4 separate regions of the Homo sapiens genome follow, and all the other regions are linked to region 1. Evidence: promoter capture Hi-C in human tissues and cell types (Jung and others, 2019). All regions are on one chromosome and are shown on one strand. Each heading gives the region's core, a stretch centred on a gene start or on the middle of the fragment in contact. The rest is flanking DNA. Distances are from core to core; before and after follow the strand shown.

Evidence for each region. Contacts are between HindIII fragments. The study calls those that stand out against the background at their distance.
Region 2: a contact is called between a fragment that was not itself captured here and the fragment with the promoter of SLC7A14 in region 1, in 3 of the 25 tissues and cell types used here (IMR-90 fibroblasts, hippocampus and mesenchymal stem cells).
Region 3: a contact is called between a fragment that was not itself captured here and the fragment with the promoter of SLC7A14 in region 1, in 1 of the 25 tissues and cell types used here (mesenchymal stem cells).
Region 4: a fragment that was not itself captured here is called in contact with the fragment with the promoter of SLC7A14 in region 1 in 6 of the 25 tissues and cell types used here (IMR-90 fibroblasts, hippocampus, mesenchymal stem cells and 3 more).

What each region holds. Positions count from the first base shown.
Region 1 is chr3:170,584,624-170,587,440 of GRCh38, forward strand. It overlaps SLC7A14 (solute carrier family 7 member 14), which reads right to left and starts at 1,452. Exons shown (of 8, transcript NM_020949.3): 1 at 1,288-1,452. The region is part of intron 2 of SLC7A14-AS1 (SLC7A14 antisense RNA 1); the gene reads left to right. RefSeq lists a silencer at 1-231. The HindIII fragment of the contact is 10,108 bases long and covers 1-2,372 here.
Region 2 is chr3:170,521,726-170,524,542 of GRCh38, forward strand. The region is part of intron 2 of SLC7A14 (solute carrier family 7 member 14); the gene reads right to left. The region is part of intron 2 of SLC7A14-AS1 (SLC7A14 antisense RNA 1); the gene reads left to right. Among named protein-coding and RNA genes, the nearest start is that of SLC7A14-AS1, 56 kb to the left of the region's middle. The HindIII fragment of the contact is 5,563 bases long and covers 1-2,817 here.
Region 3 is chr3:170,627,630-170,630,446 of GRCh38, forward strand. All of the region lies in intron 2 of SLC7A14-AS1 (SLC7A14 antisense RNA 1), which reads left to right. Among named protein-coding and RNA genes, the nearest start is that of SLC7A14, 43 kb to the left of the region's middle. The HindIII fragment of the contact is 6,253 bases long and covers 1-2,817 here.
Region 4 is chr3:170,549,816-170,552,632 of GRCh38, forward strand. The region is part of intron 1 of SLC7A14 (solute carrier family 7 member 14); the gene reads right to left. The region is part of intron 2 of SLC7A14-AS1 (SLC7A14 antisense RNA 1); the gene reads left to right. Among named protein-coding and RNA genes, the nearest start is that of SLC7A14, 35 kb to the right of the region's middle. The HindIII fragment of the contact is 4,004 bases long and covers 1-2,817 here.

The DNA.
Region 1 (2,817 bases), core at 202-2,701:
AGAACCCTTTAGGGTTCTAACGCAGTTTCTGCTCGCAGGGAATGTGGGCCCTGGCGGTATTAGCACCCAGCCTCTGAGAACTTTCAGCACCGCGGACAGCGCCATTCCCTGCACTCAGTCGGAGGAGGAGAGCTACCTTGCCCCCAGCGCTCTCCTAGACCCTATACCTAGGGGGAGGCAGGGTGACATCCTGCGGCCCTTGGGCAATTCGGGCCAGTGACGTTCACCGACACTCAGGCGGGGATCCCTTCGCCAGAGCCAGTTCCTTTGAGTGTCTCCGCTCAAAATCTCAAGGAAACGAGCTTCACACAGGTGGGGGGATGAGGAGTGCCAGAACAGGAGCGAGCCCCGCTGCTCTAGCCTTCCTGCATCTCTTCTCGCCTTTGCTTTGCTCACTCTTCAATCGCAATATAAAATACTCATTTGGGGAGGGGGCAGGGTGACACAGGAGAGAGAAGGAGGGTGGGGGCTGCATCCCGCGTGGCCACGCAGCCCTAACCTGGCCCTCTTGGATTAGAGGGGAGCTGATGTGCTTTGGAATGGGAGAAGAGAGGAGACTGAGGGTTGAAGCAGTGCAGGAGAGCTCCCCTTGCTGGGGCTGCCGGCTCTGGGCAGGGAGCTTCCCTGGACACCGCTCCCGTCACGTCCTCTTCGCCGCTCCCGGGAGAGTCACCACTCTCCGGGGACAGACGCCCCTCGGGGCGCCACCATCCTGGTCGGGGTGCTGGGCTCGGCGGGAGTCCCTTTGAGGAGTTTGCTCCCAGGTAAAAGGGCAGACGTTGCTCCCGACCTCCCCGGAGTCTGCGGCCGGAAAAGCGTCTCCGTTTCATGGTCTCGGTCCGAGGCGGAGAACGGAGCTGCCCGTGCGGGGTGCGCGCCAAGGCGGGGGACAGGACGGGCCCGGCGTCTGCCGAGACCTAGGCTGCCCGCATTCCGCTCGCGGCTCCCCTTCTGCCTCCCGCTCTAGCGGCGCCGGAGCCGCGCTGGCCCCCGCCCCGCCCGGCAGCTCCCGCGAGTCAGAGCCCGGTGCCCCCAGACCGCGGGCAGTCGGGGCCTCATTCCGGGCCAGAGCAGGAAAGAGCCCGACCCACCTCCTCGGTTCTTCCAGGGAACCCCTTCTCGGAGGGCGCCCTGGGCCTCCGCGCCATATTCCTGGTCCCCCGCTCCCGGTGACTCCGGCTCCCTGGGTCATTCCGGGAGAGGCGGCCATCCCAGTTGCAGGGGTCCCGCTGGGGCGCGGGGGGCGCGGAGGGGGACAAACGGCAGCGAAGGGGGCCGTTCACTTACCGGGGTCGGGGCTGGAGGCGACGAGCTGGCTGCCAAGGCTGGTGGCTGGCAGTCCGCACTTACTGCGCGGAGCTGTCTCTCTAGCTGGGATGGGAAGTGGTGGTGGCGGCAAAGGAAGGCAGGAGGCAGCCGCTGCTGCTGAACAGCTCCTCAATTATTCAGATTGGGCCCCCACCCCCCGAACCCCTCCCCGTGCCTGCTCGTCCTCCCTCCAGCTCGCCTGTCTCCGCCTCCTTGGAGTCACATGGCCTGCCCAACCCCTTACATACTGGGCCCAAGCCTGGCACCAGACCACCTCCCACCTGGCCCCCCTGCCTTCCCCTCTGTCTGCCGCTCACAACTCCTCGCTGGCCTTCTGAGCCTCCAGTTGTGACCTCCAGTGTCTTATGTCAGGCTGCAGGGAGGTTGAGGGGGCCGTGGATGGGGGCAGTTCTTTGCCCTGGGAAAGCAGGGACCAGCAGGACTCTGCAATGTCTGTGCGTTGGGAAGGCATCTGCCGCAGCTCTGCCCCTGCTAGACTGGGCTGTCCAGACCTCCTTCCTGCCCTCTGGAAGCTTCCCTCATCCTCTGCGGAGCCTTCGTTGCTCTTAAACTTCCACATCCCTGAGCCCTACAGGAAAGAAAAAATGAGAGAGGTTGATTTCTCCTCTCCTCCTAAAGAAGACAAGACCCACCTCTGTCTTCAAAGCTTAAGTTTATCGTTGGGTTCACAACATCTTATGGGTGCAAAGATCATGGACTTGAGATTTGAAGAGCCATTAGGATTCCAATCTGTATGACCTTGGAGCATTTAACTTTCTAGCTTTTCTTCTCTCGTCTGTGAAATAACCACCTTGCAGTATTGTCATGAGATTGAGAAATCATCATGTTCTTAGAATTGCCTAGCCTAGAGTTGGACAGGTATTTGGAGCTCAATAAAGGAGAGTTCTTTTTCCCCCACCTTTGTTAAAATAAATTTCACAAGGCAAGAAGGATGTGATGTGTGCTAATACAGTGAAAGCATCTTTTAAACATGGAAGGAGGCATCTGTGAGGTCAGGCTAGACAAGTACCAGTCTAAACGGAGACAAGAGTGAGATAAGGTTTCTGTTTTGTATTAGCTCCTTTAAGATGAGTGTCCTAGAGCCAGGTTATGTCCCAAAAGGATTGGGACTAGATGGGACCAACCCAGGCATGCTTGGCCACATCACCGAATGAATTATTTAACAAGCATTGAGTAGACTGATTTGGATGAAAGTTATCTACATAAATTCTTGCACTTTGGCCCAAGCCCTCAAAACACATGGGAGGCAACAAAATGTAACTCTCCTATCCTTGGAAATGAATTCACTGGGCTTGTGTTTGGGGAGAATACTGGCTGACTGATACTCCTCTAGGGTGGAGCAGTTCAAATCTAGCTCTACTTTGTGGGTCTGCCCTGGGCTCTTCCCAGAAAGTTGCTTGATCATTGCCAGGACAGTCTTGGTTAGTCCACCTACCTCAAGCTTGTTACTGCCTTCGATGAGCATCTAAGCCTGACAATATCCCCATA
Region 2 (2,817 bases), core at 144-2,643, 63 kb before region 1:
GCCTGGCCAATGTGGTAAAACCCTGTCTCAACTACAAATACAAAAATTAGCCATGTGTGATGTCATGCACCTGTAGTCCCAGCTACTCGGGAGGCTGAGGCAGAAGAGTCGCTTGAACCTGGGAGGTGGAGGTTGTGGTGAGCCGAGATCGTGCCATTGCACACCAGCCTGGGAGACAGAGCAAGACTCCATCTCAAAAAAAAAAGAAAAAGGTGGGGGGTGGGCAAAAGATTTAAATAGACACTTTACCAAGGAGAGCACATGGATGACAAATAAACTCATAGAAAGATGTCCAACATCATTAGTAATTAGCATAATGCAAATTAAAACCACATTGAAACATTGCTATATACCTTTTAAAATGGCAAAACAAACAAACAAACAAAAAACAAAACAACCATGAAAAACCACACCTAACAATTCTGAGTGCTGGCAAAGAACTGGAACTTTCACATATTCCTGTGCAAGTCAAATATAATACAGCTACTTTGGAAAAAAGCTTGGCTATTTATTATAAAGTTGAGCATTCACTTACCATATAAACTAACAACTTCACTCCTAAGTACTTACTTGAGAAACCACAACTTGTGTTTATATAAAAACCTACATGTAAATACTTGCAGTGAGTTTATTTACATCGGCCAAAGACTGGAAACAACCCAGTTGTCCTCCAACTGGTAAAAGGATAAACAAATGGTAGTAGAGCCATACAATGGGATACTACTCAGCAAGAAAATGGAACAACCTTCTGATACACACAACAACATGAATGAATTTCAAATGCATCTTGCTAAGCAAAAGAAAGCAAACTTAAAAGGTTATATACTGAATGATTCTATTTACATAATGTTCTGGAAAGGGCAAACCGATAGGGACTGAAAACAAATTAGTGGTTGCCAGGGGCTGGGAGTGGGAGGAGGGATTAACTACAAAGAGGCAGCCTGGAGAAATTATTTTGGAGGTGATGGAGCTCTTCTGCATCTTGATTGTGGTGAAGCTTACACGATTATATGTGTTTACTAAAGCTCATAGAAGTGTATATAAAAAAGGATGCATTTTATGATATGTAATTATAACTCAATAAAACTGAACTCCAACATCCATTTTTCATTATTACAGAAAAAAAATTCCCAAGTGATTTAAACCCATAGCCAGGGTTGAGAGTTGTTGACATTATCTCTCAACCTATCTATCAACAGATTTGAATGTGGGTTCTGTCATTTAAACTTCGGTTTACACATTTTCCACGTATGTGAAATTGGAGATAATAAAACCTACTTTAAAGAGATAAAGAGTTTTAAGGGCCACACTCTCTGGAAAGCACCTAATTTAGGGTTTGGCACAAAATAATAAAAACCACTTATTTAGTGCTATGTGCTCGGCAATGTACCAGGCAATTAATATGCATCTCCTTTAGTCTTGACAACAATCCTTTGAAGTAGGTATTATTATTTTTAAAGTGGAGAAACCGATGTTCAGAGAAATTATGGAACTTACTCAAGGTCTCACAGCTAGTCAGTGGCTGAACCAGGTTTCAAGTCTAAACTGAATGTTATTGATTGCTATACTACTTCTGAAATCTTTATTTCAAACATCCCACTCTTTATCATTTCCATCACTTCCTAGCTTTCTGTCTAACTTTCCCAGTATTTTTATTGCAATGATATCTTGACCTGATTGACAATTCCAATTTCTACCGATTCCACCACTTTTCATGAGTCATCGTCACTCTTGTGTTTCACTTCCCTTCTTATTCAGCCTAGATTATGTGATTCAGCACAGTTTAGTCTTCCTTTGAAAACACTCTTAACCCCATTACTTTTTTCTCCCTCTGCTTGGAAAAAGTTAAATCTAAGTTAATCTCAACTTTCTCTTTACTTCATTCTTGCAACTAAGCAGCAATTATTGCTGGAGATAAATGTGCAGTTGTGGAGACTGGACTCACCCTCAGGTGAGCCAGGTTTTAATTAAGACCAGAAGGAGAAAAGGACCGTGTATTTAAAAGGATGAAGATATAGGAGAGTTTGATTATTGTTGTATGGAGAAGCAGTGGGAAGTTTTGCCAAAGGTGAAACAATATGGGGATGATGATGTGAAAGTGGAAAAAAGACACTGGAGCAGCACTTCCTTTAGTTTAGTGACCAACAATCATAAGAGTGAGAGGCCTGCTTGAAGAAACCTGCTATAAATATGCTAACATTGGCATAAGTTATGATATTTTGGTCCTGGCCTGACTAGGGGCTCTGGGAGGATTCCAAATGGCCTCAGTGGCTAGATAAGTCAGTCATACAGTATAGAGAAGTGTTATGTGGAGAGGAGGAATCCTGTTTTGGGGAGAGGTAGGGTTTTTTCTTCTTGTGCTTGGTGCTGTGGTGAAGGCCTCAATTACTGGGCAGGACCAGGGTCTTTAGTGGAGGTGGCCTAGTGATGTGCTGGTAAAGGTTTAACAACTAATTCTCTGAACAATGGTAACAACAACAAACACATAGGCCCTCCATAGCTGATGCCAAGTTAACAGCATGACATCATTGAATGTAAAGCTGGAAAGAGGTATGCACCATTAGTACTCTTGGCAGCTGGTGTGAGCTGGCTCCAGCATAACACAGTCTGGACCAATTTCAGGCTCTCCATGTGAGCAGTGGAAAAGTCTAGATTATATACTGCTCATGAGCACTGTGATGGGGGTAGGTGGCAGGCTCTGGTTTCCAGATGTAATGTATCCTGTGAAGAATAAGACACAGGTAATTCATTCACAAAAATCACTGTGGTCTGGGAGACTGGGTCAAAATGGATGAGATCTATTGAAAACTGTGTAGT
Region 3 (2,817 bases), core at 136-2,635, 43 kb after region 1:
CAGTATATCTTGGGAATTGTTCCATATGGGACATACAAACACATATTGTTCTTTGTAATTTTGGGGTTGCATTTATTTTAAGTGTATGGTCCTCCCTGCTTCCTCTACCCTAACATGCACTCACATGGAGAACAAGCAGGAAGTACAAATACAAATAAAGAGGTTTATTCTCGCTGCTACTTCTTGATAGAAGTATTTGAGTGACAAATTTAACCAGATGATCAAGCTGGAAGCATTAAACAAGAGGGCACAACTTTTAGACAGTCCAAATGAGCAGGAATATTGCAGCGAGACTTTCTCTGACCGACCCCACATGTTTCCAGTCACTATACTAACTGCAGGCACACCAGCAATCATATTTACAGCCTAGTTCAGCCCCAAATTTATTGTGCAATTACTATTGTACCAAGAAAATGGAAATAACTAAAAAAGAAACAGACATAAATCTACCACACTAGAAAACCAAGGTGTTTTTTCTTGTTCCCTATTAGTTATTGCTTGCTTTTATACATACTTTGATCATTTTAATTACAAATCAGAACAATTATGTATTCTGCTTTTGTCTCTTAAACTGAATCATAAACATTGCTATTTGTTACCATGTTTACTTAATAACTTTATGTGCTTGTGTAATAGTCCATGTAGTCACTGGATTGTTTCCTCTCACTTTTAAAAAGAAAAACTGTACTATCTGAGCTATAGTTAAAAATCATAACTTACAAGAAGCTGGGCGCAGTGGCTCATGCCTATAATCCCAGCACTTTGGGAGGCTGAGGTGGGTGGATCACCTGATGTCAGGAGTTCGAGACCAACCTGGCCAACATGGTGAAACCCCATCTCTACTAAAAATGTAAAAATTAGCCAGGTGTAGTGGCGTGCACCTGTAGTCCCAGCTACTTGAGAGGCTGAGGCAGGAGAATTACTTGAACCTGGGAGGCAGAGACTGCAGTTAGCCGAGATCGTGCCACCGCACTCCAGCCTGGGTGACAGAGCGAAATTACATCTCAAAAAAAAAAAAAATTACAAGAAAATTAATCTGACATATATTTAATAATACACATGTTATTGAGCTACATGGTAATTAACTATAAAATGGAGAGCATTGCCTATAAAAAATTATAACTAACATTGTCTATACTCTGTGAAATAAAAACTTTCTAGGGGAGGTGCTGTAAAGAGGAAACTGTTCAGATGCCCTCCTGAAGAAGAAATAGACTTTTCTATACCTTTACGGAAATGAGCCTGCAAATTCTTTTTCTCCATTCCTGTAGCTGAAACTCTGCTTGCACAGAGGTAGAAGGAGCACAGTGGCATGCCTCAATCAGATTAGGTTAATCAGGTTGATTTTCTAGCAACTAGCTAAAAGTGTCAATGACTAATGGCCTTCTTTAATTAATTAACTTAATCAGCAAATATTTATTGGGCATTTATTATGTGCTGGATGTGGCATACATAGGGAAAAAATAACCGAGACCTCTGCTCCCTTACAGTTTACAATCTAGACAAGGTATAGCATAGTAATCAAATAAGCAATAAATAAAATAATGACAACTTTTAGTAATTATTAAGAAAGATTCAGGGCACTATCACAGATAGCAATGAAGTTGGGAAATTCTTTACATAGCGAATGAGAGGAGGCTTCTCTGTAAGAGTAAGTCACGTTGACACTGAAACTTGATGGAGAGGAAAGAGTCAGCCACACAAAGAGCAGGGGAAATAGGGGCCAGCAGGAGCAAAGGCTCTGAGGCATGGTGTATGCTTGAGATGACTAAGACCACTGGGACTGTGGTGCAGGGGGCAGCAGGCAACGTGGCCTGGGCGAGGTGGAGAGGAGGGCATGGGTCTTACCATGCACGGCCCAGAACACCACGGCGGGAGCCTGAATTTCATTCAAGGTACAATGCAAAGCCAGGTAAAAGTCTTAAGCAGGAGAATGGTGTAATTCAAATCGTGTTTTAAAAAGAACTTTTGGCCACTGCGTGGACGACAGATTGGAGGAGGGCAAGAATGGAAGTTGAAGGAATAATTAGAAGGTCGTTGGTGTTGCTGCACGAGAAGAGACCTTGGCTGGAATCTGAGTGGTGGCAGTGGAAGTGGAGACTAATCACGGGTATGGGGGCTGGAGCTGCTGGCTGAAAGGACTGTGAAGAATGAGAGAAAAGCAAGTTGCCAATCATGACTCCCAGGTTTCCAGGCAAGCTCCACATTTAGAAGTGAGAGGCAGGAAGGCAAGAGGTCTCTCCTGGATATTTAAGTTGGAGATGCCTTGTGGGACATCCGAATGGAACTATCCGCGTGGCAGTGAGATATAGGAGTCTCAGGTCGATATTATCAGCCTGGCAATATTCAAAGCCCGAGGACTGGATGAGACTCAAGGAGAGTGTGTAGTTGGGGAAAAGAAGGAGCCCAGGACTGAGTCAGTAACTTCTCAGAGATGTGCAATCATGACCAGAAGTAAATCCCCAACTGGTGGAAAGTCAAGCTCTCTGATGATTTGTAGTGTATGTTTTTACTATTAAATAATCCCTCAGTGGTCAGAGAAACTATCCAGAGAAATTATTTTCTTTCAGGTCTTTCAGTTTCTCTCTGCCTACCTCTCCTAGTTCTGGTATCACCTAACCCTTAGGGATCCTCCTACAGGGAAAGAGGGGGAAATGTGGGTAAGGTTTTTCATGCTCTGTGACCATGTAGGCTGTCACCTTAAGTGGTTCTTTGATCAAGGGAAACCCATCAGGTCTCAGTCAATCCAAGAGATGATATGTTTGCTTTGGAAAAGAAAGCGATCTAACATTTAAAATCTCTCCAACTGGAAAATGA
Region 4 (2,817 bases), core at 119-2,618, 35 kb before region 1:
CTCAAACCATGGAGGCATGGGGAAACTGAATGACAGTGAGGATGGAAAGCAATTTAAACTCTTTACAAGTAAATCTTTATAATTCCAGGGGCAGAGGTCTGATGGGTGAAAGCTTTAGTCTAGGGAAATGCCAAAAGCTGTGGCTGCTGTGGTTTTATCTGTTTGTAATTTTATGTGCAGAGGGGAAAAGAGGAAGACCCTGAGCTATAATTAAATGATGGTTGTGATTGGACATGTGTGTGTAATGAAGGGTTGACCTGAAAATAAGTCAGTGGTCCTCAATTCTATTAGCCTTAATGCCACCTTTTTAACAGCACACGTTGCATTATAAATGTGATGGGGCATTCTGCCCATTTCTAAGCTGAAATGAAGTTCATAGATAATATAACCAACCCACAAACATTATTCAAGAAAAATCAATATAGTGCACTTACTATAATATGAAGAAGAACTAGAAGGCAATTAATTTGTAGTAAAAAATACTCTTTAAGCTGTAAATGCACAAGAATGATATAATGAAATACTTAAACTTGCATCTATGCATAGAGTCACTGAGATCTCAATAGCCATAAACCGTAAAGTGTGGGTGTTGGTGATTCAAATACTACTGCACAGGGTTTGTGGTGAAGTGGTTTTTTGAAATGGTAAACGACTCTTGTAATCTTTCAAACTAAACCTAATGCCATCTTTCCTTGAATTTTTTTTTTTTTTTTTTTTTTTTTGGTGACAGAGTTTCGCTTTTGTCGCCCAGGCTGGAGTGCAATGGTGTGATCTCGGCTCACTGCAACCTCCGCCTCCCAGGTTCAAGCAATTCTCCTGCCTCAGCCTCCTGAGTAGCTGGGATTACAGGTTCCTGCCACCATGCCTGAATAATTTTTATATTTTTAGTAGAGACGGGGTTTCACCATGTTGGCCAGGCTGGTCTCGAACTCCTGACCTCAGGTGATCTGCCTGCCTAGGCCTCCCAAAGTGCTGGGATTACAGGCATGAGACACCGCGCCCAACCATCTTTCCTTGATTTGTATATTGGTTGCCTTTCTGAAAAATTCAGCACATATATTTTTTAAAAGCGAAGTGTAATCCACATACTATAAAATTCATCCTTTTAAAGTATATATTTCAGTGTTTTTTTAGTACAGTATATTCACAGAATTGTGAAACTATCACACTGATTTAATTTTAGAACATTGTAATTACCCCCTCAAAAATCCCATACCCATGAGCAGTTACTCTCCATTGCTCCTCCCCCAACTCCTGGTAACCACTAATCTACTTTCTTTCTTTATGGATTTGCCTATGTTGGACATTTCACATAAATTCAGTAATATTATATGTGGCCTTTTGTATCTGGCTTCTTTCACTTATCATAACGTTGTCAAAGTTCATCCATGTTGTATCACATATCAGAACTTCATTTCTGTTTTATGGCTGAATAATATCCCATTATATGGCTATACCATATTTTGTTCACTCATTCATAGTATTCAGTTGATACCATTTGGATTGTTTCCACTTTTTGGATATTATGAATAATGTTGCTGTGAGCATTCGTGTACAGATTTTTGTGTGGACATTCGTTTTCAGGTCTCTTGGATACATACTGGGAGTGGAAGTGCTGTGTCATATGGCATCTCAATGTTTAACATTTTCAGGAACTGCTGGACTGTGTTCCAAGACAGCAGCACCACTTTGCATTCCCACCAGCAATGGATGATTTCAGTTTCTCTACATCTTCCTCAATATGTGTTATTGTTAATCTTTTTAAAATTACAACCATCCTAAAGGGTGTGAAGTTGTATCTCATTGTGGTTTTACTTTTATTTCCCTAATGACTAAAGATCTTGAGCATCTTTATCGGCCATTTGTACATACCTTTGAAGAAATATCTATTCAAATCATTTGCCCATTAAAAATGGGTTATTTCTCTTTTTATTGTTGAGTCATAAGATTCTTTATATATTCTGGATTCTAAATCCTTCTCAGATATATGTGTTGCAATATAAACCATTCTGTGCTTTTCCTTTTCACTTTCTTAAAGATTTCATTCTTTTCACTTTCTTAAAGGTTTCATTTGAAGTGCAAAAGTTTTTTGGATTTGAAGTAGTCTAATTTATCTATTTTTCCTTTTATTGTTTATGCTTTTGATATCATATCTAAAAAACGTATTGCCTAATCCAAAATTACAAAGACTTATGACTATATTTTCTTCCAAGAATTTTATTGTTTTAGCTCTTATGTTTTGGTCTTTAATCCATTCTGAGTTAATTTTTGAATAACAACTGAGGTAAGGGTCCACCTTCATTCTTTATCATGTGTGTATCTAGTGGACTCAGCACCATTTGTTGAAAATACTGATCTTTTCCCTACTGAATTGTGTTGGTGTCAAGACAATTGGTGTCTTAGTGTCAAGACAATTCAATAGGAAAAATAAGAGTCTAGAGATACACTCTTACATTAATAAGTTTAATAAAACTTAAAACAAAATTAAGAGTCCAGAAATACACCCTCACATTGTTGGGCATTGAGATCAGTTGCCTAACAATGTAAGGATGTATTTGTGGACTCTTAATTTTATTCCATTGATCTACATATCAATCTTTATAGCACATATAAAATTTATACATAGTACTTTATGTTTATATGCAAAATGGTATTGTGTTCTGGGATGCTGAGATCATTATTAACAGGTTTTTGACCTGTGTGATTGTCTGGTTGTATATTTGAAAGCGAATTCTTCCTCATATGTGACCGTGCTGCCCATTGCAGTACATCTAACATTATTAGCCTCTGACAACTAAATGACACTGTGTCCCCCAA